Linked DNA regions of Homo sapiens: all the other regions are linked to region 4. The links are contacts of gene promoters, found by promoter capture Hi-C in blood cells and fetal thymus (Javierre and others, 2016). All regions are on one chromosome and are shown on one strand. The core of a region is centred on a gene start or on the middle of the fragment in contact, and the rest is flanking DNA. Distances in the headings are between cores, read along the strand shown. Region 1 overlaps FNIP1 (folliculin interacting protein 1). Region 2 overlaps FNIP1 (folliculin interacting protein 1). Region 3 overlaps RAPGEF6 (Rap guanine nucleotide exchange factor 6). Region 4 holds the start of ACSL6-AS1 (ACSL6 antisense RNA 1). Region 5 holds the start of RAPGEF6 (Rap guanine nucleotide exchange factor 6). Region 6 overlaps FNIP1 (folliculin interacting protein 1). Region 7 overlaps FNIP1 (folliculin interacting protein 1).

What was found. The method cuts DNA at HindIII sites, captures the fragments that hold promoters and counts their contacts. A CHiCAGO score of 5 or more calls a contact.
Region 1: a contact is called between a fragment that was not itself captured here and the fragment with the promoter of ACSL6-AS1 in region 4, in 6 of 17 cell types (naive CD8 T cells, megakaryocytes, naive CD4 T cells and 3 more). The highest score is 7.5, in naive CD8 T cells.
Region 2: a fragment that was not itself captured here is called in contact with the fragment with the promoter of ACSL6-AS1 in region 4 in 12 of 17 cell types (M2 macrophages, megakaryocytes, M1 macrophages and 9 more); the score reaches 12.5 in M2 macrophages.
Region 3: a fragment that was not itself captured here is called in contact with the fragment with the promoter of ACSL6-AS1 in region 4 in 6 of 17 cell types (naive CD8 T cells, fetal thymus, total CD4 T cells and 3 more); the score reaches 7.0 in naive CD8 T cells.
Region 5: a contact is called between the fragment with the promoter of RAPGEF6 here and the fragment with the promoter of ACSL6-AS1 in region 4, in 17 of 17 cell types (megakaryocytes, naive CD4 T cells, total CD4 T cells and 14 more). The highest score is 14.0, in megakaryocytes.
Region 6: a contact is called between a fragment that was not itself captured here and the fragment with the promoter of ACSL6-AS1 in region 4, in 3 of 17 cell types (M1 macrophages, M2 macrophages and megakaryocytes). The highest score is 6.0, in M1 macrophages.
Region 7: a fragment that was not itself captured here is called in contact with the fragment with the promoter of ACSL6-AS1 in region 4 in 11 of 17 cell types (M2 macrophages, M1 macrophages, non-activated CD4 T cells and 8 more); the score reaches 13.3 in M2 macrophages.

Annotation. Positions count from the first base shown.
Region 1 is chr5:131,653,526-131,657,456 of GRCh38, reverse strand. The region is part of intron 15 of FNIP1 (folliculin interacting protein 1); the gene reads left to right. Among named protein-coding and RNA genes, the nearest start is that of RAPGEF6, 20 kb to the right of the region's middle. The HindIII fragment of the contact is 8,856 bases long and covers 1-3,931 here.
Region 2 is chr5:131,701,124-131,704,715 of GRCh38, reverse strand. FNIP1 (folliculin interacting protein 1) reads left to right here. Exons shown (of 18, transcript NM_133372.3): 10 at 450-651. Among named protein-coding and RNA genes, the nearest start is that of RAPGEF6, 68 kb to the right of the region's middle. The HindIII fragment of the contact is 3,730 bases long and covers 467-3,592 here.
Region 3 is chr5:131,530,260-131,534,425 of GRCh38, reverse strand. The region is part of intron 6 of RAPGEF6 (Rap guanine nucleotide exchange factor 6); the gene reads left to right. Among named protein-coding and RNA genes, the nearest start is that of RAPGEF6, 100 kb to the left of the region's middle. The HindIII fragment of the contact is 3,878 bases long and covers 431-4,166 here.
Region 4 is chr5:132,001,576-132,005,368 of GRCh38, reverse strand. ACSL6-AS1 (ACSL6 antisense RNA 1) reads right to left here and starts at 1,796. Exons shown (of 2, transcript NR_183256.1): 1 at 1,558-1,796. All of the region lies in intron 1 of ACSL6 (acyl-CoA synthetase long chain family member 6), which reads left to right. RefSeq lists an enhancer at 3,020-3,615. The HindIII fragment of the contact is 3,713 bases long and covers 1-3,018 here.
Region 5 is chr5:131,633,935-131,637,960 of GRCh38, reverse strand. RAPGEF6 (Rap guanine nucleotide exchange factor 6) reads left to right here and starts at 2,732. Exons shown (of 28, transcript NM_016340.6): 1 at 2,732-2,999. The coding sequence starts at 2,931. RefSeq lists enhancers at 2,163-2,362, 2,373-2,622, 1,631-2,830, 2,923-3,012, 2,960-3,542. The HindIII fragment of the contact is 12,440 bases long and covers 1-4,026 here.
Region 6 is chr5:131,736,975-131,741,127 of GRCh38, reverse strand. All of the region lies in intron 2 of FNIP1 (folliculin interacting protein 1), which reads left to right. Among named protein-coding and RNA genes, the nearest start is that of FNIP1, 58 kb to the left of the region's middle. The HindIII fragment of the contact is 4,556 bases long and covers 1-3,588 here.
Region 7 is chr5:131,718,014-131,722,155 of GRCh38, reverse strand. It overlaps FNIP1 (folliculin interacting protein 1), which reads left to right. Exons shown (of 18, transcript NM_133372.3): 4 at 2,739-2,839; 5 at 3,096-3,170. Among named protein-coding and RNA genes, the nearest start is that of FNIP1, 77 kb to the left of the region's middle. The HindIII fragment of the contact is 954 bases long and covers 1,745-2,698 here.

The sequences.
Region 1 (3,931 bases), core at 27-2,526, 350 kb after region 4:
GAGATGTGTTTAGGGGCAATTAGACTACTTCAACACTTGCAGTGTTAAACTCATAGGGTTCTGGGTGGCCAGGGGCATTGTCCAACATAAGAACTTTAAAAGGCAGTCACTTACTGGCAAGGTACTTCTTGATTTTAGAAATAAAGCATGGGTGGGGCCAGGCGTGGTGGCTCACGCCTGTAATCCCAGCACCTTAGGAGGCTGAGGTGTGTGGATCATGAGGTCAGGAGTTCGAGACCAGCCTGGCCAACATAGTGAAAACCCGTCTCTACTAAAAATACACAAATGAGCCAGGCATGGTGGCAGGTGCCTGTAGTCCCAGCTACTTGAGAGTCTGAGTCAGGAGAAGCACTCGAACCTGGGAGTTGGAGGTTGCAGTGAGCTGTCTGGGCAACCCAGCGAGACTCTGTCTCAAAAAAAAAAAAAAAAAAAAAAAAGGCATGGGTGGATTCAATCCAGAAAAAGAGTTTTTGTTTTTCAGGCTTTCTTGTTCTACTATCAGAAGACTAGCAGGGCTGGTGTTTATCTTTTTTCCTTCAAGGTCCAGAGGTTAGCAGCTCTTTATATAAGGGTAGTTCTGATCTTAATCATGACTGCATTTACACAAAACAGTGGAGTTAGCTTATCCCTTCCTGCCTTAAATCTCGGTGCTTGCTCCTGTTCCTTACTAATAAATGTACTTTGTGGCATCTTTTTCCATAATAGGATTCTTTCATCAGCAATAAAAACCTGTTCAGGCAGATACCTTTTGTCCTCTATGATTTTCTTGATGGTGTCCAAGAACTTGTGTATTGCCTCTTGGTCAGCAAAAGCTGTTATCTTGATATTTTTTAAGCTAAAACTCTTTCTAAAATTATCAAACCATACTTTCCTAGCGTTAAATTCTCCAGCTTTAGATCCTTTACCCTCCTTTTGCTTTAAGTTGTCATATAATGACTTCATCTAAAAAATAATATTAGAGTCTTTAGTTAGAGCTTTCTTACAGCAACCCTGTACCCACATAAGAGCTGCATTTTCATTATGAGATTTAAAAGGTATTCTGCAAAAGTACCTGGTTTTCACACCTAGTGGCATTGCTGCAATGACAGCTTCACAAATTTCCTTTTCTTATTTTACAACTGTCCTCATGGTGGATTCATTGATCTTGAAATGATGGGTAACCACAGCTACTTAATCTATGGTCCATATCAAGCCATTCAAGTTTTTCTTGTAATATCTTAACTTCTCTCTACTTTTCTTGAGAGCATTTCCAGCATCACTAGTGGTACTCCATGTGGATCCCATGATGTTATTCAGGGTTTGCTGTATCACACTAACCATGATGGAAAATACATGAGAACCTTTAAACACCAGTTTTGTTATCTTTTTGGCTTTTTGTTTTATTAGAGACAGAGTCTTACTCTGTCACCCAGACTGGAGTGCAATGGTGCAGTCATAGCTCACTGCAGCCTCAAACACCTGGGCTTAAGGGATCCTCCTGCCTTAGCCTCCCAAAAGAGATTAGTTTTTTTTTTGTTTTGTTTTGTTTTGTTGTTTTTTGAGATGGAGTCTTGCTCTGTCACCCAGGCTGGAGTGCAGTGACGCAATCTTGGTTCACTGCAAGCTCCACCTCCCGGGTTCACGCCATTCTCCTGCGTCAGCCTCTGGAGTAGCTGGGATTGCAGGCGCCTGCCACCATGCCTAACTAATTTTTTTTTTTTTTTTGTATTTTTAGTAGAGACGAGGTTTCACTGTGTTAGCCAGGATGGCCTCGAAAAGAGATTAGTTTTTAACTGAGATATGCTGTTTATTGGAGAGCGGAACTGCTCCTGCAGAGATGATTAAGTTGGCAGGGTGTTTGAAGTACATACTTGCAACACTTGAGCTCTGGGCAATAGCAACAGGAAGTAGCTACAAAACTATTATAGTAGTGCAGTAGGTACTACAGCTAGTTTTATGCAGTTATGATTTAATACTATACATTTGTTAACATTTCTCTGGGCTGTGAATGTCACCTTGTATGCCTTGTAAGTGTGTAAGTTTTTATAAATTTTAACTTCTTATAGTAGATTTGTATTTTATAGTAGTAAATGATAAAATATACTACCTACATTTTTTTGTTTGTTTGTTTGTTTTGAGATGGGTCTTACTATGTTGCTCAGGTTAGTCTCTCGAACTACTGGGCTCAATTGATCCTCTCGCCTCTGCCTCCCCAGTAGCTGGGATTACAAATGCACACTACTGTGGCATGCATCCACATATATTTTATGTATTCATGACATGCCTAACTTTTCTTATTTTCCGTATTTCTAGGCTACACGGTTTTGTCTAAGTTTTTCAAATTGTTGCAAATTTCCAAAAACTTTACCCATATATTATATTGGAAAAAATTGGCATCTAAGTGGACCTGTAGTTCAAACCCATGTTGTTGGTCAGCTGAATATATTTCACAATATCACAGATGTATATATCTTTGCCAAAATTATATTTCCATAATTAAGTGATGAATAACAAAGTGATTTATCCCTGGCAAGAGATGAATAAATATTTGAATACTGTTTTATAAAAAACAAATATAAATTTGGGGCTCCATGGAAAATCTTCCCAAGGTATATTTTTGGACTTTTCCTTTGCCATTCTCTTCTTATTTCTCAATATCATTTCTCACAAATGTAGCCATTTGCATCTACTTCTATTTCTGATTCTTACTCTTACCGAATTATCCATGTTCTTCTCCCATTTTTTTCACCAGTAGTCCTATCTATACACTTCAATGTCATAGTCCTATGTCCCTTTCACTGCGAAACTCCCTATCACACAGATCCCACGATTGCCCTCCTCTACTTCCCAGCACTTGGTTTCTGCTTCATCAGTAACACATTTTTTTTAAAGCTAGATGTATTTATTTTGATCTCCCTCACAAGTCTATGAGTTCTGTTGTCTTTGTTTCTTTAGTTTCCAGGAAAGAGCTTTATTCAGAGTAGTTGTTCATTAACTAGGCAAAGGAATATCATTTGAGGATGCCAAACCTGGGCTTATCCAGGAGTAAACTTTTGTCCTTATTGTGGTACCTTATCCTAATTGTAGTAACATTAAAAGTTAGAGAGGAAAAGCCATTGGTCTCAGTATTTCATATTATAGTTTTAATCTCAGTCTTGTTGCTGCTATTCCATTTGGCCAGTAGTAAAAAAAAATCCTTACCTTTCCAAATACAGAAAAATATTAAAGGTAGGGTCACTATCTGTTTCTGGCAGACATGCTCTGTACTTAATTGTCATTTTTGGTCTTTGTTTGTAAACCGGGGGAAGGTAAGGACATAGCCATATGCCTTGTGGCTCTTTCATGACTATGTATATATGAGTCAAAATATTATTTTTCACTGTCTTAACATTTTTAACAATGAAAGTAAATGCTTGTGATAAAAATTCAAACAATAAGGGCTGGGTGCAGTGGCTCACGCCTGTAATCCCAGCACTTTGGGAGGCCAAGGTAGGTGGATTGCGAGGTCAGGAGTTCGAGACCAGCCTGACCTACATGGTGAAACCCTGTCTCTACTAAAAGTACAAAAATTAGCCGGGCGTGGTGGCACACACCTGTAATCCCAGCTACGCAGGAGGCTGAGGCAGGAGAATCACTTGAACCCGGGAGGTGGAGGTTGCAGTGAGCTGAGATCACGCCACTGTACTCCAGCCTAGGCTGGTGACAGAGTGAGACTGTCTGAAAAAAATAAATAAAAATTTAAAAGTTCAAACAGTATAAAGATATACAGAGTAAAAAGTAGAAGTCCTTCATACTCTTAACGTTCTTGCTTCACAGAGATCTTCAATACTTCATACTTGATTTGAGTATTTTCTTTCTTTTTTCTATACACTTTCATTTAGATGTAGATCTGAATTTTTAGAAACATAACTGTATGTATAGTGACTTTTTTTTTTTTTGAGACGGAATTTCG
Region 2 (3,592 bases), core at 1,082-3,581, 300 kb after region 4:
ATTAAGTACAACTGTAGATACTAAAAGTTCTTGTTTTCTCCTCTTTTTTATTTCCTTTATTCCTTCATCTTTGACTTTACTCCTGAAATCAAAAACAGACACCAGAAGGGCCTAGAACAGGGAAAAGATTGTACCAGACTCATCTATAAATCTTAAAATTTAGCCACTTTTTGGTTGATTATGAATTGGGATTATCTACTTCTTTAGTTACTTCTAATTGGACAAAAAAATGTTCCCAATCTGACTCTGTAGTAAAATTTCTTACAAGAACATGAACCTGAAAGAATAGCCAGTAGATTTCTTAAAGAGATATACAATTGGTATGAAATTATAGGTTTGTTTGATAAAACAGCAAAAGACTTAGCTTACCTACATTTAATTAGCAAGAAGATTAAATTGTGAATTTATTTTTACTTTTGTAAATTAATAAAAAATCATTTATTTTTAAGGTCTATAGAAGAAAGCTTTAATCTCTCAGATGAAAGCTGTGGCCCTAACCCAGGAATTGTGCGGAAAAAGAAGATTGCAATTGGGGTAATCTTTTCATTGTCCAAAGATGAAGATGAAAATAACAAATTTAATGAATTCTTTTTTTCACATTTTCCTCTCTTTGAAAGCCACATGAACAAATTAAAGAGTGCAATAGAACAGGTAAGCATAGTTATTTATTTATGTATTTTCCTTTTAAAATCTTATTCTCCCAATTAAGCATTATATTTATTAATTTGGCAGAAAAATTAACAGACGTTGTGCATGTGTCCTATAAAGTGCTCTGGTGGATGCAAATAGATTGAACCCTTTTTAAGGTGCTTACTGTCTAGTAAAAGATATAAGATCATTCATCCATTTGTTCTGTAAATAAATATTTGAGGGACTAAAATGTGGTAGACACCGTTCTACCAACTAAAGAGAAGTGATAAAAGCAACACTTCTGACCTCATGGGACAAATAAACATATGAATATAGATGTATGTAATAAGTCCTGTGAAGAAAAATAAAACGGAGAACGGTATATAAGGGATCCTGCAAGGAAGGATTACTAATTTTTATAGGCTAGTCAGGAATGCCCCTTATTAAAGGACATGTGAATGTGGTCCAGAAATACGGAGCAGGTGAGCTACAACCATCTGGAACGAGATATTCCAGGCAGGGGCAAAGGCCTTATTGCAGGAGTAAGCCTGATACTTAAGCAGCATTACGAGGCCAAGGTGCCTAGGTTGAAGTGAGACTAGATCATGTAGGACCTTATAAGATACCATTGTAAGAACATTAGCATTTATTCTTACAAAAGTATGAAAGATGGGAAACCATTGGAGGGTTTTCAGTGGAGGAAGAAGGACATTATTTATGAGGATCACTCTTACTGCTGGTGGATAATAGATTTCTAGGAGCAAAAGTAGATGTTGTGAGACCAATTAGCATACTGTTACAGTAATCCAGATGATGAATACGCAAACCACTTTAGTGATTGAATTGGTAAGAAAGAGTTGGATTCTAGATATATTTTGAAAACAGCCAGTTTGATTAGCTGGTAGACTAATCATTAAGGTTGACTCTAAGATTTTTTTAGCCAAGCAGTTAAAAGGATGAAGTTGCCAGCATTGAAGTGAGAAAGACTGCAAGCGAAACAGATTTGATAAAGGAAGATGGGTATTTTATATTTGCATATGGACATCCTTGTGTTTTTATGAGTCTGGAGTTTACCAGAGAAGTCATCAGTGTATAGATGGTATTTAAAGCCATGAAACTGATGGAGATTGGCAAGAGAGGACAGGCAATGGTAAGCCTGAGTTGTGGTGCATTTTAACATTAAGAGTTTGACGAGATGAGAAGGAACCAGCAGAGGCGAAGGAAAAGGATTGGCTATTCAATTAGGAGAAAAAACAAGAGTGTATTCTTTTGGGGAAAGCCAAGTACAGAAAGTATTTCAAGGAAGGAGTGATCACTTTTGTCAGTTGCTACTGAGATAGTATATACGATACAAATATGTATAGTAAATTGTGAAATATTAGAATCTAAGCTAAAAAGGAAGGACAAAGGTTTTTTAGAAATTTGGGGGAAAGTGAAATGACTTCCTATTGGGAAGAAGTTTCATTTGGACTGCATTTTGAAGGATGTATGGGATGTTTTGGAACATAAAGCTCTGAAAATTGGATATAGCAGAATAGCAAGAAAATCGACATTCTTGCCACCCAAAGGGAACACAGTAACTCATTGCTGAAAAATCTTATTTAGGCCTTTTTTATGCATATTGTGCTTTTACTTGGTAGGGATTGTGCTGTGTCTACATTTTTCAAATTATATGCCCATTTAAAAAAACTCAGATTGAGCAACATGGCAAGACCCGGTCTCTACAAAAAAAAATTTAAAAATTAGCCAGGCATGGGGGAGCACACTAGTAGTCTCAGCTACTAGGGAGGCCGAGGTGGGAGGGGTGCTTGAGCTCAGAAGGTCGAGGCTGTAGTGAGTTGTGATTGTGCCTCTGCACTGTAGCAACAGAGTGAGTCCCTATCTCAAATAGTAAAATAAAAAACATCATTGTCACATACACATTTCTCAAGTTATTGTAAATGGTTCTTACATATATTTTAGTAGGTCTCCTCAATTTAAGTAACAGTTTCCCTGTTAGGCCATTTCTACTTTTGCACAATTGTTGCTACCCTATCGTTAACATCTTGGCGAATTTTCCAGATTATTTTTTAGAGGAGATTCCCAGAAGTTGAGCTGATAAAATCAGTGGCTGTCACCAGAGTTTTTTGCAACAGTCTGTGGAAGGGAAAGGATACAAAGAGGAATAGTGAGAGGTACAACTGGCGAAGTTAATGAGTACCTGATGACAAAAAATGTAGCGTGCTTGCCAGGGAGTTCTGACTTTGTCTTTAAGGCTGTTTGCAAGTTGTACTTTGGGGAGATTAACTTGGCAGTGTGTTTTGTATATGGCTGCTGAAACGAGCACTTGGTAGTGCGTTTTGAAGAGACTGGAGTAAGAGACGAGAGGTGGGTAGACCCGTTAGAATGGTTTAGAAAGGAAAGGATGTATCTCAATAACTCATTAGTGACTAAGGATGATCTGCCTTTAGAGAAGACATAGATGTTAGTTATTCATATTGAGTATGTCAAAAAATAAATAGTTCATTAGCAATACATTTTTATTGAACAAATGAGTAAAGGCCATTTTCATTTACCTTTTCTTAAGTTAGACACTGATTACATTTCTTCAATTGGCTGCACTCACATTTTGTAGTCTAGCCAAAGTCATCACACACAGTAATAAGTTGTGGGTGAACTGACATTTTTAGTTATTTGGAGAAGTATTTCAAACTTTGTATAAAACTTGAAATAGGCATTATAGAACTCATTAAAGATTACTTTTCAAGTGTTTTCATGTTTTAACGCTTTGATAATTCTGTAACCTAAAGCAGCAGTCCCCAGCCTTTTTGGCAACCAGGGACCCTTTGTAGAAGATAATTTTTTCACGGATGGGGCTGGGGAGGTGGGGAGTTGCCATGGTTTCAGAGGCATTAGATTCTCATAAGAGTGTGCAACGTAGATCCCTTGCATGCACGGTTCACAATAGGGTATGCGCTCCTAT
Region 3 (4,166 bases), core at 1,120-3,619, 470 kb after region 4:
AAATAATTACATATTTTGAAAGCATAACTTGTCTTTGTTCAAAATTATACTTAGTTTAACTTAAATTCTAGTTTTATAAGTAGCAGTGTAATTCAGATTGGCAGCATAGTGTTGTTCAGAAAGTGACTCAGACTTTTCTCAAAGATATTGAAGAACTTATTTTTTTTGTGCTTAACAACAAGATGTTTCTTCTGCAGTCAGTGGAGTCCTTTGTTAAAAGACCTGTCTCCCAGGTAACATCTCCTCTTATGTTGCACACCCCATTTTCCCCAAAATAAAAGTGTTAGGTAAATAAAGCAAAATAATTATATTGCTTTGATTTGTTCAGTGATTGTTTTTCTCATAATTTTGCCGCCTGGAGGTATAACTAACTATATTTTACTATTGGGAACTGTCTTTCTTTGGCCACTAGGAGCAACCATTGCAAGCTTAGTTGGAGTATCTAATGCCTTGTAGCAGAAGCATGAAGAACAAGGATGGGTACTAGTGGTATTGTGTTTCAGATGGAAGAGGGTGTGGCAAAATTAAAATCTTTTTCTGTAATTTCTATAGAAAAATGGGGCAATTTTTTTTAGTCCACACTCACTCTGGAAGCAGGTTTAATCCTTTTCTTTGATTTCTTCTGAGTGAGTTTTGCTGGCTTCTTGTCTTTTTCTAGGAATTCAGCATTGGGCTACAGGAAAGTACCATGTTGTGTAGATTATTCTTTCTCAAAGAAGTAGGTGCATGCTGCAACTATTGGTGTACATCTGATTTTTTTCCAGCTTCCCTTTGCAAAATGAAATTCTATTGTTTCCATTTAAATTTACTATCTACCTACAAATCTTAGTACTAGTTTGTATATTCTTAATGTTAATTTAGAGTGATCCTGAAGGTTATATCTTTCAGAACAGTTATTTGATAAATAGCAAATTTTGCAAGCAGAAACCCCTTGTTAACAAATACATGTGACATCTGAGAACCTAGGCTGCCTTGTTTATTTGGAATGCAATGGTATCTTATCAGAGCTTATAATTTTACCTTGGGAGGACAATACTGTATTACATTTGAATAATAATAGGAAATATGGCTTCCCAAATATAGCTGTGTATCAATGTACAGAATTAAAAATCAAAATGGATTTTTAAAACTGTGAAGTAGAAAGGGTGCTCAAGCCAATTTTTTTCTTAAAGAATTTAGCTTGCTGACGTGTCTCATGGAAAGGAGGATGGGGTGTGTGTGTGTGTGTGTGTGTGTGTGTGTGTGTGTGTGTGTGTATGTTTTCAATAAATTGCTCTTGGGGCTACATCTGCAGATACAGTAGCCAATTGATCTAATGCAGTTTCTGGAGGCTTTCTGTACAGGTGATGTCATCCTTTTAGCTCTATTCTCCTCCCACTCTCTTTCCTTCTTATTAGATATTTCATCTTACTGCAGAGCATAGAATCAATAGGAGCTTCTCCTTAGGGAGCTGCTTTGAAACAGGCAAGGACAGTAGAAATTAAGACACTAACATTCAGTCTTGCTTTAGCAGAAGATATAATGGTTTTGTACCATATTATATAAAAATGTTTAACCAGAAAAGCTAGACTTAAATCAACAGTGCTGTTTTACTGATACATTAGAATAAGGAACAGTGCTGCAGAGCTGTAAACAGTGCATGTGAATAGAGAAAATAATTACAATTTTGGAGATTCTTAGACATTCTACAGGACAAACCTGTTACGGCATATATCATCTAACTGCCATTTGCTCAACTTTTTTTTTTTTTAAACCTCTGGAGGTTAAGAATATAAAGAAGAAACTTTAATCTTCAGGATACAATGTTTGCTTTTGATGCAGAAGAATCACTGCAGTGCTTGTTCTACAGAATGAAATAAGTTGAAGAAAAGACAAAGCTATATTACAGAGAGGAAAGGTTTCACGGAATCCAGGAACACAGATTTGGTGCATGTTGCCTGATTTGCTTTGACTGATACCGTATTAACTGTTGTGCTACCACTCTGCATGTCTGTGCCAGGTGCCTGAGGCCGCATGTATATGTCTGTATATTCTGAGCCAGAATTGTAAACATCTTCATTTACTGTGATTTGCTTGTTAAAGTGAACGTTTTAATTTAGAACAATACTGAAAGCTCCTGATTTCAGTTTTAAAAGGGGTTTGGAGAGGCTGCCTTTATATAAACACTGCAGTGGTGTATGATTTGTAAAAAGAAACTTAACAGAATTTTATCACCGTACTCATCACTGTAGCTCTGGTTTGAAAAGGAAACTACCCTTTCCAGCCTAGGAAATGGCTTTTCTTGTTCGCTGTTATGCCAATTGTCTTCAGCCATGGGCCTCCAAAGTAAGTAATTGTTATTTTCTTAGCAATTGATTTAATCCAGTTATTAAATTTTATTTTGAACTGTAAATGAGCTTTATTGCGCTCTTTTCTAAACTTTAAAAATAAGAACTACAAAGTAGTCTTTCTCATTGCCATTTTTTTTTAATTTAAATATCTAAAACATTCTAACGTGACCTCTAAGAGATTTGAAAGGTGCGTTTTAAATCTGTAGACTTAAAATGCAGTGCATTTGAGATGTACTCTCTTCAGACTGAATTATTTTTTGATTATGGCTATTGCTGTACTTATCAGTGATCATACTCTAACTTGCTTCATTTTCTTAAATGGTTGATATATTTAGGTATGTTAGTCTAATTGCCAGATTATATGACATTTTTCATTAATATGATGCTGTCATAAATTATGATTGAATTGTGCTATTTTACAATTGAATTGTGCTATTTTACAAAGATTAGTTGATAATTCTTGAGCAGTGAAATAATATGAAGAAAATACTCATGAAAATCAATTATATGAAAATATTTAAATAATGATTCTAAGTATTTTCAAGATAGTAAACCATTAGCAGCTGGAGACTATTTAAGGTCATCTATCATACTTGTCATTTTTAAATAAACATAATAACTCACAAAAAAGCAAAGTGCTATACAACCTTCCAGGCTAGGTTGTAGGAAAATATATACTCTAATTCAGTGAGTTTTATTATACACAGTGGCTATTTATATAGTCTGTAATTTGATGCCACTCAAGTTATCTTTCCTGTCTCATGTATGTATTATAAAACAGTGTTTTTTCAAAACATTTAAATTGTAACATTTATTAAGATTTTTTATGGTTCTCTTGCATACAGACAGGCACAATAGAGGCACTTCTTAGTATGGTCTGAAATCATGTCTTTGTTTCAAGGTTGTCCTGTTGATGGTGACTAAGGAAGAAATCCTATGATAGCATCGTGGTGTTTTTCTGTTTTATCTGGCCTAGCTCACTGCATGTCTTTCTTAAAGGCAGCTTCTGGAAAGACATTTAAATTCACTGTCCATTTGGCAAACAGCTGATTGAAATGTAAATAGATGAAAAGAAGCCTAGGTACACAATGTATTTGTGCTATTATCTGGCTAAGGCTTAAATGGCCTTTTTAGTGAAAATGACACCTATATGGCCCAAGCATTGCTGATGCTTGATAGCTGCACTATACTACAAAGGTTTAAACCACTTGTAGAAAGGAAGTGAGTGAGACCGTGTAAAAAAAACTTTAAAGAAAATTAAGAATGAGATATAGGGGTTGTTTTTTAAGGTAACCAGCAAAATAAAATAGCCTTTGGAATGCTGATAGCCAACTTTTGATCCCAGATTTAACAAATATGGAAGAGTCAAAATTTCAAAATCAGCTTCTAAGGTTTCATGAAATGCCAGCAAACATTATATGAGCAGGATTCTGGATTGGTACTCTACTGTGTAAATCAAGTATTTGTAAGAGTACATGTCTCCATCCCCCTTCCCTCATGTTACTGTTGATGAAATTTTGACTCTGGATTGCAATTAAACACATAAAACTTAGAATTTTGTTATACTTCTTTTCATTTTCCAGTACATTTTACTGGTTTTATTTTTGTTCATGTATTTTTGCCTATGCTACTATGTACTTGCATTTTACTACTTCTGAATTCATTAATTTTCTTGCTAAAATAAATAGTCGTATTAGCATGGTTCTACTGGGGGTTGGGGAAGAATGAATCATAAATGCCTTCCTTTATATTTACTCTTAAGATAATTGTTTAGTTCAATATAAAATAATAAATCCAAAGTCTTTTTTCTTTAGCAGTTTGAAAAAGTTACTACAC
Region 4 (3,793 bases), core at 547-3,046:
CCTGCAGTGACCCCTCTGCTTTGGAAGGGAAGCTCTGGCCACTCTGCCCTGCCACTAGAGCTGATGCTGCATGAAGCCACATAGACCCCAGGACCCTGCTTAGTGGCTGGAGAACTTCAGTGTTCATCGTGACTGTGCTTTCCAGCAGATGGGCTGGATGTGATTCTCTGAGGACACCTTCAACTCACGCATTTTTTTTTCTTTTTTCTTTTTTTTGAGACAGAGCTTTGTTGTTGTTGCCCAGGCTGGAGTGCAATGGCGTGATCTTGGCTCACTGCAACCTCTGCCTCCTGGGTTCAAGTGATTCTCCTGCCTCAGCCTCCCATGTAGCTGGGATTACAGGTGCCTGCCACCACACCCGGCTAATTTTTTTGTATTTTTGGTAGAGACGGGGTTTCACCACATTGGCCAGGCTGTTCTCAAACTCCTGACCTCAGGTGATCTAGGTGATCCACCCATCTCAGCCTCCCAAAGTGCTGGGATTACAGGTGTGAGCCACCATGCCCAGCCAACTCATGCATATTCTGTAGGCCAACTCCCCTAAGCCTAGGTCTGTCTGTGGTGGCAGGGAGGGTTTAGAGAGAAATGGAGGTTGGGCCTTCCCCCATCCAGTAGGCTGGTAGGGGATTTGGGTGCATGTGTCCCCGATCTCCTTGCCACAGACCAGATATGGAAGGCTATGACCTGTGGAACCAACTTTTCTAGGTCATTCTGAAGTGTCCTGTCTCCTCTGTCTCCTGCTTCTGCTCCCTGGACAGTTCCATGACCTCTCACAGAGACATGCCTGGCACCTTGGCTTCATGAAGATACTGTGTGGCCCAAACGAATACCAGTTTCCTTTAGCCCCAGAGGCTGACAAGACATATCTCCCTTGGATTTCAGGAGATCTGTGGAGCATCCACCAACCCACCTGTTGGTTCAAAATCAACTCCAAAGTGGTTTTGTCCTAGATGTCCTCTCAGGCTCAACGGCCACATGTGTGCTTGAGATCTTGCTGTGCTATTTCTCCTGGTAGTGGGAGTCTGAGTGGCATCCATGCTCCACAGGGCACAAGGTCTGTGCTGTGGTTAATAGGCAGCTCCTGGTGACCATGGGGTGTCAGAGAAGCAGTGTTCTGGCTGCTGAAAGTCAGCCAAAAAAAAAAAAAAAGGATAGAAGCCTGACCTTGGCATGGAGCCTTGGTTGAAGAAGGAGCCCCAGCCCTGGAAGCTAGTGATCCCGCACATGGGGCTCTGGGCTGCCCTTATCCCCACCTCCCACTCGAGGGCACTTGTGGCAGCAGGAGTGTGGGCACCAGGCAGAGGACACACGTGCCCTCCATTATTGAAAGTCCTCTCTGTGCACTGCAGGGTCTTCTTGTGTACCAGCACTTTTTTCTTCCCATTTCTTTCTCCATGTTTACCATCAACACTGTGAGAATAACTGAAGTTTCCTTATCCAAAAAAAGGGTGCTACTCCAGATTCCGCCACTACTGTTTTCGAAAAGCACAAAACCAACAGAGCCTCAGAGGGGGCTGACCCTCTTTCTGGATCCCACCTCCATCCCCCCGAACTTACGTAGTGCTTTCCTCAGCAGCCACCGAGGCCTCCAGTTCCGTCTCCAAAGATGATGGGTTCCTTCCAGTGGGTGCAAAGTGAGAGCCCCAGTGATTGGTGTTCATAGTGGGTCAGTGTGAACAACGCCCAATGGCCTGCCTGGGCCAGCTGGGGCCTCGTTTTGCTTTGGTCTGAAAGACATTTTTGTTTTCTGGTGAGAACAGCCCCAGCCTGGCCAGGAGCCGGCCAGCGGCAGGAATACAAACCCTTTCATGTGACAGACCCAAGTGGAGTGATGCCCTCCTGCCAGCAGCAGGCCCTCCCCTGCCGCTCCTGGGAGGCGGCCATTTGCATATTTCCCATTCATCCTGGCCTTGAAAAGGAGGCCTGAGTTCCCAGTGCTCCTGCCCGCTGAGGGCTGGGCCGCTCCAGTCTAATGTTAACTCTGTGGACACTGTAGGCTCTCACAGGCCAACAGCAGAACTTGACCGCTTGCTGCCGGAGGGAGAGCAGCTTAAGGCTGCAGCTGCTGTGCCGCCTGACCTCCAGAGGGGGGATTCAGGAGGTGGCAGATTCCCGTTGACCAGCACAGCCTTTTGCTAAACTGGAGGAAATTCAGATTTGTTTCTTCTTGAGGCATTCAGAAGAGGAATTTTGTCAGACTATGGGGATGCCAGAATATTCAGCTATTTACCAAATTTGCCAGAAAATGTGCCCTTAACCAAGGGCAAAACTCTTTTTGTCTTGCTCACTTTCTAGTCTACAAAAAAATTCAGTGACTCTGGAATGGTAGGTGAAGGAGCCATGCCGGATCCTGGCTGCAGCAGCAATCCCTTTGCCAAGGATGTAGGAGCACAGCTTGCCTGGGGCACTTTTGCATCCCCAGGGCTGAGTGCCATTAGCTTGTGGGCTGTGACTCTGAAGGCATGAGGCAGATATACAGTACCCATCACCATCTTTTTCCTTTCTCCCATAGCTAAGTGCCATCCTGCCAGCCTCAGCTTCCTGCCCCAGTCCTCAGTGCAGACAGGCCTCTGCCTCCTTCCCGCCACTGTGTGAGGGCTCCTGCCAGGGGCCCCAACATCTTACAGGCTCTTCCTGTGACTTACCAACCCACTTCTGTCCCTCTTCGATAGCCCTGTTCTCTACCCTTTCCCACCCAGCTCGGATCCTCTCCTTGTTCTCCCTCCCTGGCTAAGGATGTCTCAGGTTCTGTCTTTTGTGCATTTCTCCCCTAGCACGTGTCCCCAGGAGACCAGCAGGGCTCCTAAGTGAACAAGCAGGCAAGCAAATCCCTCTGTTGCTCCCCCCACCTCAGTGACCCCCAACCATATATTGGCAGGACCCTCCCTACTTCAAGGAGCTTCCCTCTAGCTGGAGGAGGTCGCATCCCATCCTGCTTGTACCCCAGCCACCTGCAGTTGAGCTCTGAGTGCATGGCCTCGCCATGAGCAGCCCATATGCCCTTTACTGGTTCAAGCTTAGTTTGCAGTGTGTCCTAAGTTTGAGCCAGTGGCAGAAATGAATCATTGCTCCTGAGGCCGGGACACCAGCAGTCCTAACGTGGACATGGCCGGAAAGGCAAAGGATCGTGTTACAGCCACAGGATTTGGCTTCCTGCACAGGAGGGCCTGGCCAGGGAGTGTCCCTGTGCCTGTGAGGTGATGGTGACCCTGGTCAGTATTCCTAGGGTCCTGCCTGCTGTCCCAGGGCTTGGCGTGGAAGGATCTGAACTCGTCCACACCATCAGTCCTGGTTATCATACCCTGTAAATATTTCCAAAGGGACTACTGCTGTTTTTTTAGCCCCTGCTGTCCCTCTTTGCTCTGAGAACTTTGTCCTGCCTAATTCATGGTGAGGGCAACGTTTATCTCAGAGCGTGTGAAAGACACTGTGTATCTGTTTGCTCCTCTGTTCTCAAGGCTATTCATATTTTAAAGTTCCTGAAAGCATTGTTTGTGCCTGGCTTCCTGGTGCTAGCATCAGGAATGTGGACCCACATTCCCTGAGCAGGGCTTAGGGTGAGTGAGATTTTTGAGAGGTACTGTCATGAGGATGGGGAGGCCAGCGGGCAGTGGAGGCTGCTAAAGGGAGGCATGCTCACAGTGAGCTTGGGCTAGTTGCAACAGGTGGCTCTGTAAAGTACTCAGTCACAGCCAGCCTTAGCTGGGCCTTTCTACATTCAAGGGGCTTAATTGAACCATCAGAGCTATGATCAGGCTCCTTGGGGAAGCTTGGCAGGTGAGCCACCATGTAA
Region 5 (4,026 bases), core at 1,483-3,982, 370 kb after region 4:
CCTGAGCTCCGCCTGTCAGATCAGCAGGGGCATTAGATTCTCTAGGAACAGGAACACTATCATGAACTGCACATGTGAGGGCTCTAGGCTGCATGCTCCTTATGAGAATCTAATAATGCCTGATGATGTGAGTTGGAACAGTTCCATACTGAAACCCTCCCCCTAACCCCTATAGAGAATTTGTCTTTCACAAAACCAGTCCCTGGTGCCATAAAACGTTGGGGACTGCTGCTATAGGGCATATATCAAAGAAAGGACTTGCTGTCATAAGGTGTGTTATGTTTCAACTTTATTACTTTTTTTTTTTTTTTTTGCCAAAAGTGACTTCCCAACTTGCACTTAACCAGCAGTTTGAGTTCCTCTTGCTCCACATCTTCACAAATACTTAAATGTGTTTCTGAATTGTTATAAGTGAAAAAAAACTGTATTAAAAAAATCTATTCAATTATTCAAAGTTGAATTTCTACTTTAGAGGAATCACTTCCCAGGCCGGGAGCGGGGGCTCACGCCTATAATCCCAGCACTTTGGGAGGCCAAATTGAGTGGATCACTTGAGGTCAGGAGTTCAAGACCAGCCTGGCCAATATGGTGAAACCCCATTTCTACTAAAAATACAAAAATTAGCCGGGCGTGGTGGCGGGCGCCTGTAATCCCAGCTACTCAGGAGGCTGAGACAGGAGAATCCCTTGAACTCCCGAGTAGTTCAAGGGACATTGCAGTGAGCCGAGGTCGCGCCATTGCTCTCCAGCCTGGGCAACAAGAGAAAAACTCCGTCTCAAAAAAAAAAAAAAAAAAAATCACTTCCTAGAGGCAAAATAATGGAAATAATAAGGAGTGCTCGGATTGTGCAGCATACTAAGTGCTTCATGTGAATTTTCTCATACTAAGTGCTTCATACTAAGTGCTTAAGTGCTTCACGTGAGTTTTCTCACGTAATCTTACTAAGTGCTTCATGTGACATACTAAGTGCTTCATGTGAATTTTCTCACTTAATCTTAAGAAAATTCTGAAACAATAGGTCCTTTACTATATTCCCATTTAACATAAGGAAAATGAAGGCAACATACTAAGTGCTTCATGTGAATTTTCTCGCGTAATCTTAAGAAAATTCTGAAGCAATAGGTCCTTTACTATATTCCCATTTAACATAAGGAAAATGAAGTTCAGAGATGTTAAATAACTTCAAGTCACTTAACTAGAAGAGGTCTAATATTAGAGACACAAATTCTAGGTCTGTTTGCCCCTAAAGTTCAAGTTCATGGTGATCATGCTTTATAGTTCTTTCTCCCTCTTTCAAAATATTGATGTGACTCTGAAAATTGATCCTTGAAGAATGGAAGGGTTAACTTTTGTTTGTGATCCTGGGCAGATCTTTGAGAGGTTATATTTGTACAAAAAATGAGGAAAACGGATCGTCTGCAACATCCTGTGATTTTTTCCACAATTACTTTATTTCTACAATGGCTATGCCACACTTCGCTGGTAAAGTTTTTGATCTATACCTGAAAAAGAGAAATGCTAATAGTATGTTGTAAACTCCCAGTTTGGGCAAGCCCCAGGACCAACAGAAAACAGTCCTTAAGTCATTGCCGGTCCCAGAAACGGTGTTGTAGCCTGAACTCTCATTGTTTTCAAATATAATTTTAACTCTTATTACGTCATTAAAATTACTGTGAAGCAGTCATTAATTGGAAAGCATGTCATAATCATAAATCACCTTGTTATTTAGTGAACTATGCTAACTGCTGTGAGAAATACCAAGGTGTACCTAGATGTAGTTACAGCCATCAAGGAGCTTAAAATTCAGTGGAAAGGTGGTGTCGCCAAAGTTAGTTACCTATGAACTTATGAGAAAGGGTAAGGAGTATCCTAGAACGATGGATTCTGGAATTGTCAGTGAGCTTATTGTTGAAACGGCCTCAGCAGCTCTCTGGCTGCTCCTAAGGGTGGTCTGTTTTTCTTACCAAGGGAGCAGTGAAACAAAACTGGCTTTATTCGGTCTGTTGGGAAGCAGACTAGAATGTAAAAAGTATTGCAAAAGTTGCCACTCGAGTCCCAACCCTAAACGCAGTTGCCTGAGGGAGGGCTGCCCCGGGCATTTAGTTACAAGAACGCAGTCTAAATCTAGTTTTTTGACTCAAAGGTAATCGTGAGCTGGCCGCGGCACCGGCTGCCTATCCTGGCCGTGAATGTTTGCTTTCTCTGCCCTGGTCTCAGGACGTCCGTTTCGAATAGATCAAGCACTTCTCTGTCGGCAGCTTTCACAAGAGATCTCGTTTTATTTAAAGAGATATGAGGTGTGCGTGGAATTCCTTCTTTGCCGAATGGCGGCTTCTACTTCCGCATATTCAAAGTCGGCAGTAGAAGTTGCAGAGGAGAGCGCAAAGCCGGACTTGGCCACACCCTGGGCTTCCGGATTTGGGCACAACAGTTCTCTCCAGTCAGAACGCCTCCCCACGGTTCTGCCCCAAAATGCTATTTTTGCTCAGGTCCTCAGCGCGTTTCCGGTGTCTCCAACGGATGGAGAAGACGGAACCACAACGCCAAGGCAGACCCCGTGACTGATTTAGGTGAGGTCTCGCGAGGTGTCTTTAAATCTCACGACGACAGCAGGAAACGACTTACTCGCACCGCCCCAATTTTAACGTCACAGTGGAGTTACTCCCTTGGGCGTTTCTTAGCGTGCGCGTGCGTGCTGCGCATGCGCACTTACTCTCCCCCGCCCCCGCGCAGACTTGTCTCCGGCCAGTCGCGCGTGGGTAGAGGCCTTAGGCGGGCGTTGCGAAGGGTTGTTTGCTAGAGTTCGGACCTTGTTACGGCGCGAAGTTCCCTCCTTGGGGCGGGGGAAAGGTACCGCACCCGCTACCTAGTGTGAATGAACTGTGGCGTGGGCTGCTAAGGGCAGGCTGCGGAGTACCCGGGCCGTGGCCATGAACTCACCCGTGGACCCTGGCGCTAGGCAGGCGTTGAGGAAGAAGCCACCCGAGCGGACTCCCGAGGTGAGGCTGGTTGACCTTTATGTGCGTCTCACAGTCCAGTAGACAGCATCCTCCTGTCTGTCCGAAATCCGCGGCGACTGCCCTCTTGCCAGAGTCTCGCACCTGCTACTGGGAATCTGTTCGCTTGAGTCTCTTCCCTGACCCAGGCCCTTGTCGCCAGCAGGGTGCCGACCGCCCTTCCTGCCTGTGATGCGGTCTTAACCCGCGTACCCGTCCTTGCCGGGGGCTTCTGAGTGTCGTTAAGAAAGCACCATTACTAAGTCGTATTTTCTGAGTTGGGTAATATGAGTTTCGCAGTTAGATGCCCATTCGTTTAAGTAGACTATGAAAAACGAGATGGAAATTGTAAGGGAAGTATCTCAGCCATGTAATTTAGAAATAGTTTTTCTTTAAAGGTCTCTGAAATATTGTACAGTTGCCTAAAAAAAAGATAAAGTTTTCAAAGTTAGTTTAAAAGTTTACATCCAGTCAAATGGTGAATTCTGTAGTAGATGATGCATGTTTAAAGAACACCACTGTAGGTACTTTTTCAGACTGTCACTGGGAAATTTTACAGTATTTTGTACTTGGATCCAAAATTTGCTGTGTCGAGTTAACAGTTATGGCATCAGCTTAAAAGATTTTTCATTCGACCTTCATGAAGGCTAGTTTTCAGGCATATAACTAAAACCTGTTAGCTTTGCTTATCCCGGTAGAATGCTAAGGTTTTGGGGAAGGTTTTCCTTGATTTGGAGGTTTCTATAACAAGTGGGACATATTTTCTAAACAAAACACTAAACAGTGTGAGTGGATTATTGGATTGTTTTGTTTAAAGTTGCAGTAAATGAAATGAAATGCTTTGGTTAATTCTTCACTTTGGAGTTTTTCAGATATGTAGTGTTTTGCATACTGAGTCTCAGTAACGTTGGGCTGACCTTTTGGGTCGTGACAATTATTCAGGTCACAACGGAAGCCATGATAGGTCAAATTATGTTATTGAAGATCCTGATGTTTGCATAGGAACAACACAAATTCTACCACTTTCCAG
Region 6 (4,153 bases), core at 61-2,560, 260 kb after region 4:
GCAAGTTTATTAAGAAAGTAAAGGAATAAAGAATGGCAACTCCATAGGCAGACCAGCCCCGAGGCCTGCTGATTGTGGGTTTTTATGGTTATTTCTTGATTGTATGCTAAACAAGGGGTGGATTATTCATGCCTCCCATTTTTTACACCATATACTGTAATTTACTGATGTTGCCAGTGGCATTTGTAAACTGTCATGGAGCTGGTGGGAGTGTAGTAGTGAGGATGACCAGAGGTCACTCTTGTCGCCATCTTGGTTTTGGTGCATTTTAGCCAGCTTCTTTACTGCAGGCTTTTTCATCATCAAGGTTTTTATGACTTATGTCTTGTGCCAACCTCCTATCTCCTCCTGTGACTTAGAATGCTTTAACCATCTGGGAATGCAGCCCAGTCGGTCTGAGCCTTATTTTACCCAGCCCCTATTCAAGATGGAGTTGCTCTGGTTCAACATCTCTGACAGAAGAACCTTCCCGTGGTAGAAAAATATATTGAGATATGGTTTCGATATGAACACTAACATAGCCAAATGGATCCATTCTGATTTTATCACACTATTATCCTTATCCTAGACATTGTTTTTATGTCAACAACAGTGCAATGCTATTTCATGAGTTCCCAGTTAAGTTATATGACCATTCACATGTATCAGCTTTCACTGATTCTAAACAAGGATAAAGTTGTACATCAGTAAATTCACATAACTTTGGAAAGATGATTACAGATTTTAAGACATGAGAAACACTCCGAAGCATCGTACAGTGCTAATTGAATAGTTGAGTCTTATTTATGATATCACATTTGCACATAGGATTTGGTTAGATAATTGGATTTAGGTTAATATACAGAAATCAGTAAGCTCAATATATGCAAATAGCTTCCAGTTTGAACACATAAAAGTGAGACATTCATTTAAAATAGAAATTAAAATGACAAAGTTGCCTATGCATACACTTAACAAAATCTGTAAGTTTAGAACTTTAAAAGTCTTCTTAAGGGACGTAAAAACGTACCTTAACAAATGGAAAGGCTAAACATATTCCATGGCAGTAGTCAATGTTATAAAGTTGTCCAAAGTGCTTTGTAAAATAATGCTATCACAGAAACAATGTTATCCTTATTTTTGTGTGTTTGGGGTGGGGGTAGTGTCTGGAACTAAATAGTGGATTCTAAAGTTCAAATGGAAAAAAATTAGCAATGATTGGTTGGAAAACTGAAAAAGAAGGGCAGTGAGGATGAGCCAGTCCTATCACATTTGAAAATATACTGCACAGTCTCAGTATCTAAAACAGTGTTTTTTTTTTTTTTTTTTTTTTTTTGAGCTGGAGTCTCACTCTGTCACCCAGGCTGGAGAGCAGCGGCGCAATCTCAGCTCACTACAAGCTCCGCCTCCTGGGTTCACGCCATTCTCCTGCCTCAGCCTCCCGAGTAGCTGGGACTACAGGCACCGGCCACCACGCCCGGCTAACGTTTTGTATTTTTAGTAGAGACAGGGTTTCACTGTGTTAGCCAGGGTGTTCTCCATCTCCTGACCTCGTGATCCACCCACCTCGGCCTCCCAAAGTGCTGGGATTACGGGCGTGAGCCACCACGCCTGGCCAAACAGTGTGTTATTGACACATAAATAGGCAATAGACTAATGGAACAAAATAGAGGATCAGAAATACATCCAAATACGTTCAGGAATTTTGGTATATGATTAAGGCATCATCTTAAATGGTGTTGAGACAATTAGCCATGTGGAAGAAAGATTAATTTAGACTCATACTGTTACTACTTACTATTATTATTATTTTAAAGATGGCGTCTTACTGTTTTATCCAGGCTGGTCTCAAACTCTTGGGCTCAAGCATGAGTCACTGTGCCCAGCCTTAATTTGGATTCATATCTTACAGTGTACATCAGGATGAAACCAAGTATATCAAACATTTAAATATAAAAATATAAAACTATAACATTACAAAAGAAAAAATGAGGGAGTTCCTATATATCTGTGGAGTGGAAAAGGTATCTCTAGGCTGGGTGCAGTGGCTCACGCCTGTAAACCCAGCACTTTGGGAGGTCAACATGGGTGAATTACTTGAGGCCAGGTGTTTGAGACCAGTCTGGCCAACATAGGAAGACCCCGTCTCTACAGAAAACATAAAAATTAGCTGGGTGTGGTGCTGAGTGTCTGTAGTCCCAGCTACTGGGAGACTGAGGCAGAAGAATCACTTGAGCCCAGGAAGTGGAGGTTGCAATGAGCCAGGATCACGCCACTGCACTCTACCCTAAGTGACAAAGCAAGACCCTCTCCCCGCTGGCCAAAAAAAAAAAAAAGGCCGGATGCAGTGGCTCATGCCTGTAATCCCACACTTTGGGAGGCTGAAAGGCTGAGGAGGGTGGATCACATGAGGTCGGGAGTTCAAGACCAGCCTGGCCAACGTGGTGAAACCCCGTCTCTACTAAAAAAAAAAGTACAAAAATTAGCCGGGTGTGGTGGCACGTGCCTGTAGTTTCATCTACTAGGGAGGCTGAGACACGAGAATTGCTTGATCCCAGGAGGCGGTGGCTACAGTGAGCCAAGATTGCAGTCATGCCACTGCACTCCAGCCTGGGCAACAGAGTGAGACTCTGTCTCAAGCAAAGATATTTCTAGCTATGAGTTAAAATTCAGAAGCCATAAAGTAAAAGATTGACAAATTTGACAGCCAATTTTTTTTCAACTTGCATGATAAAACAGAAAACAACACCATAAGGAAAGTTAAAAGACAGATGGCAACCTGAGAAAACACTTTGACAATTTAAAATGCCAAGTGTTAATATAAAGAGTTCCTAGAAATCAAGAACCACTCAGTAGATAATTGAGTGAAGGACAAGAGCTGAGCGTTGATATACAAATTGATATGACACGTTTAATAAAATCATACGTTTATAAGATCCTCTCCCTTATCCATAATTAAGAAAATGAAAATCAAAACTATACTGAAGCTGGGCATGGTGAGGTGAGAGGATTGCTTGAGCTCAGGAATTTGAGGCCAGCCTGGGCAATATGGTGAGAACTCAACTCTTAAAAAAAAGAAAAGCAAAAAAACCTATACTGAGATTTCAGGTCTTTCCTTTTCTAATGACAAAAACTAATGTCTGCTGATCTGAGGTGGAACAGTTTCATCCTGAAACCATATCCCCACTACCCTGCCCCAGTCTGCAGAAAAATTGTCTTGCACGAAACTGGTGCCTGGTGCCAAAAAGGTTGGCAACCGCTGTTAAGCACTAGGGAATACAGGTGAATAAAAGAAGACATAGTCCTTTTCCTCATGGAACTAAGAATCTAACAGGAGAAAGAGACAGTTAACAGATAATTACACAAATATGTGTAATGAAATGTGTATTCCAAGTATGTCTAATAAAAGTAATAATGATAGCAGCAGCTAACTCACGTTAGCACTTACTATCTTTACATGTAAAGAGTAAATATATGTAAAACAGAAGAGTACTACCATTATTATTCCGATTTATAGATAAAGAGGTTAAAGGATGACAATGTTTAAGTGAATTGCCATGAAAGGACTTCATTTAGTCTAGGGAGATCAAGAAAGTGATATTTTAAGCTTAGACTATGGGGGAAAAATGCGTTAAGAGTTAAGGTGAAAGAGGAAGCACTTGAGAGAGCTGGAAAGACATTCCAGGCTGAGGTAACCCTGTATGTCCAATCTCTGAAACAAAAGTTTGCTAGAGGAAGAAAAGGGACATACTTCAGTTCCAGGACTAAAGCATAAAAACACACCTAAAAGTGTGTACAAAAGGATGCACATACACACACATACTATTCTCCCATCAGCTCCTCAGCTGTTGTTTCTCTACTCCCTCCCATCTTGAAGTCGTGACTTTTCTGAAAGCAAACAGCAGCAACTACAGTGGCAGATGGTCCTGTAATGAGGGGACAAGGTGCAGTCAACAACAATCCCTCATGTAAGCACAGGACTTCTATAAGCAGGAATTGTAGGAAAAAGGGTTCAATTTCTTATTATTTTACTTTGTTATCTCAGAGAAGTGATGCTGTACTTTATGTCTAGCCCACAAAAACAAATACCTTCGAATTATGCAAAAAAAGTTATAAATATTACTGAAAAATACAACTGGCTTTCTATAACTAGGTTATAATTTTTATTAACTTT
Region 7 (4,142 bases), core at 972-3,471, 280 kb after region 4:
GCCTGTGTCAAATGCATGTAAATGAATAGTTCTGAAAATTGCTACTTCAACCATAACACTGATCTTTTAAGTATAAAAATTATTCTAAATCTCCTATCTTCAAGTGAGGCTGTGAAATGAAATTTTTTTCATTTGTGCACATTACTGCCCTAAAACAAACTGGACTTCAAAAAATGAGGAAGAATTAGAGAATAGATACTTGGTAGGTAAAAAGTGATATTTGCCATGATATCTAAATAGTAACCAAATGGATAAGCTCAATCTTTAACTATTGTCTGACTCCTGTGAAGACAAAGAATAATGAAAGAGAATAACTTTTTAATCAGGAGGTTCTTTGGAAACAAGACATTATAATGTTTCAAGGAAGTCTTGCTCTGTCGCCCAGGCTGGAGTGCAATGGCGTGATCTCCACTCACTACAACCTCTGCCTCCTGGGCTCAAGCGATTCTCCTGCCTCAGCCTCCCGCGTAGCTGGGATTACAGGCATGCACCACCATGCCCAGCTAATTTTTTGTATTTTTAGCAGAGATGGGGTTTCACCATGTTGGCCAGGCTGGTCTTGAACTCCTGACCTTGTGATCCTCTCGCCTAAGCCTCCCAAAATGCTGGTATTACAAGCGTGATCCACCGCGCTAGCCTCAAGGAAGTCTTTAAAAAAAAAATTGTGGGAAGAACATGAGATCTACCCTCTTAAATTTTTAAGTGTACAATGAATTGTTTTCTACATGTACAGTGTTACACTATAGATTTCTAGAGCTTATTCAAATTGCTTGACTGAAATTTAATGCCATTGATTAGTAACTCCCCATTTCCCCCTCACCCCAGCCCCTGGTAACTACCATTCTACTCTTTGATTCTGTAAATTTGGCTATTTTAAATACCTCATATAAGTGGAGTATTTATCTTATCATGCAGTATTTATCTCTTTGTGACTGGCTTATTTCATTTAGCCTAACGTCCTTAAGATTCATCCGTGTTGCGTGTTGCAGAATTTTCTTCTTTTTGAAAACTGAATAGTGTTTCATTCTATGTATTTATTATATTTCATTTATCCATGCATCTGTCAGTGGACATTTAGGGTTATTTTCACATCTTGGCTATTGTGAATAGTGCTGTAATGAATATAGGAGTGCTAACATCTCTTTGAGATCCTGATTTTAATTATTTTGGAAAAATGCCCAGAAGTGGAATTGCCAGATCACATGGTAGTTCTATTTTTAATTTTTGGAGGACTTGCCATGTTGTTTTCCATAAGTACAATACCATTTTGCATTCCTACAACAATGTGCAAGGGCTCCAGTTTTCCCACATCCTCACCACTTGTTGTCTTTGCTTTTTTGATTATAGCCAACCTGACAGGTTTTGTGGTTTTGATTTACATTTCTCTGATTAGAAATGTTGAGCGTTTCTCCTGTATCAGTTGGTCATTTGTATGAATTCTTTGGAGAAATGTTTATTCAAGACCTTAATTGCGTTATTAGTTTTTACTATAGAGTTGTAGGGGTTTCTGGTACATTTTGAAGCCAAATCCCTTATCAGATACATGGTTTGCAAGTATTTTTTCCCATTCCATATTTTATCTTTTCCCATTCCATATTTTATCTTTTTGCCCTCTTGATTATTTTCTTTGCTGTGCAGAAACATTTTAGTTTGATGTAGTCCCACTTGTCTGTTTTTGCTGTTGTTACCTGTGCTTTGGGTGTCATATCTGTGAAATTATTGCTAAGACCAATGTCATCAAGCTTTTCTCCTGTTTTCTTCTGGGAGTTTTACAGTTTCAGGTCATACATGTAAGCCTTTAATCTATATTCAGTTGATTTTTGTGCATGATATAGGACACCAGTTTTATTCTTTCGCATGTGGATATCCAGTTTTCCAAGAAGCATTTGTTAAGGAGACTATCCTGTCCCCATTGTGTATTCTTAGCACCCTTCTTGAAGATAAGTTGACTGTATACATGTAGGTTTATTTCTGGGCTGTTTGTTCTGTTCCATTGGTCTATATGTCTGTCTTAATGTCAGTACCTTACTGTTTTCACTACTGTAGCTTTGTAGTATAATTTGAAATCAGGAAGTGTAATGCCCACCAGCTTTGTTCTTTTTCAAGGTTGATTTGGCTGCTGCTTCTTGAAGAAGAAGGTTGTGGTCTTCTGTGGTTTCATGTGAATTTTAATATGTTTTTCTGTTTTTGTAAAAAATGCCATTAGGATTTTCATAGGCATAGTATTGAAACTGTAGATCACAGATATGTCTTTACAGAAATACAAAATAGATATAAATTGCCCCATTTATGGATGCTTCTTATATACAACAGGAGTAGTAAAAATTATTCTGCATATTCTTTGAATTTCACTTATTATCTATCCTGGAGAAACATTGCATATGCATAAGATGTGGTTAAGAATGCCTGCTTTTGCATTATTGGTAATAGCAAAAATCTGGAAGTGACTTAAATGCCCGTGAGTAAAGGGAACTGGTCTGACAAACTGTAGTATTTTCATACAATAAAATATTGTACAGCTCTTAAAAGGAATTAGTCAAATTTATGTGTAACAACATGGTTACATCAAGAAAACATTTTAAAAGGAAGAAAATCGAGTTGCAGAACAGCGTATACAGTGTAGAAGTACAACTCTTAATGTAGAATAACTATATCAAGAATTTTTAATAAAAATCAACATATGAAATAGTCATAAGCTTTTAATTAACACAGTTTGTTAATATGTGGTTATTGTTTAGGGTTCTCGGTGCTCTTCTGATGCCAATATGCTTGGAGAGATGATGTTTGGCTCAGTAGCAATGAGCTACAAAGGATCCACCTTAAAAATTCATCAGATTCGGTGAGAGGTTTTCTGATTTTTTTTTAACGAGTCCCATTTTTAGATATTTTCGTTTTTTTAGAGAGAATTTTATATGATCTTCACTCAGATTGAGCTTGTCATACTCCATTTAACATGTTCTATGGTTTTAATGCTACTTCATGGCTCTTGCAGCTATGCTGTGAAACCTCTGTGACTTACACATTTTTATTTATAATAAATCCAAAAGGTCATTATATTTTAGTTTTGGTCTCTCTCTTTCTCTTTTTCTTCATAGTTCCCCTCCACAGCTCATGCTCAGCAAAGTGTTTACTGCTCGGACTGGCAGCAGTATTTGTGGGAGTCTCAATACGTAAGTGCTTATGGATACAGGGGGAAATGTATCACTTTAGATGTGCAAAGTATGAAAACTAACCAACTGCTTTTAGGACTGCAGCACAAGTTCAGATTTTCTGTCTTTCCTTAAGTTTAAAAGTTCATGGAAGCCAGATTTCACTCTTAATTGAGTTTAGTTGAGAAACATGAGATGTGGTTTCTGTTTCTGTGAATTGCTAGAAGCAGTATCTGGAAGTAGAATGTTGAATGGATTTCCGTCTTAGGGCAACATGCTGATTTTTCAGTTTTGCGGTACCACGCTGAGTTACCTGAGTTACCACAATCTGTAGGGTTGGTGCTCTTCAATTTTCAGATCCCCTACGAAATTAACCCTAAAGACAGGACTGACCTAGGTCAGCCATACTGATATTGCACATATACACTATATAATGATAGCCACCAGGGTATTACAAGCTATTAATGCAAAGATTAGAATAGTGAAGCTGAAACAAAGGCAGGCCTGGTGTCAGGATCATGGGCCATGTGCCAGAACCTAGTAAATTACTGGGGCTAAAGTTAGGCAGTGGAAGACCCCAGAGAGAGATTTTGCAGGTGCCATATCAGAGCAAGACTCATTGGCTAGTCAGAGCCCCTGGGGGTAACCCAAGGTCAAAGGCAGCAAGGAAGCTACTCCAGACTACAGAAATTCTGTAGAGCCCCCATTAATTGTTAATGCCTTAAAAAGACCTGTTTGGAAGAGTTTTATTAGCTAAGTTTCTAATACCTGTAACTCTTTGGAAGGAAAGTGGGAGGTAGTCTTTTTTTTTTTTTTTCGAGATGGAGCCTCACTGTGTCACCACGGTGGAGTGCAGTGGCGTGATCTCAGCTCACTGCAACCTCTGTCCTGGGTTCAAGCGATTCTCCTGACTCAGCCTCCAGAGTAGGTGGGACTACAGGCGCAGGCCACCACGCCCGGCTGACTTTTTTTTTTTTTTGTATTTTTAGTAGA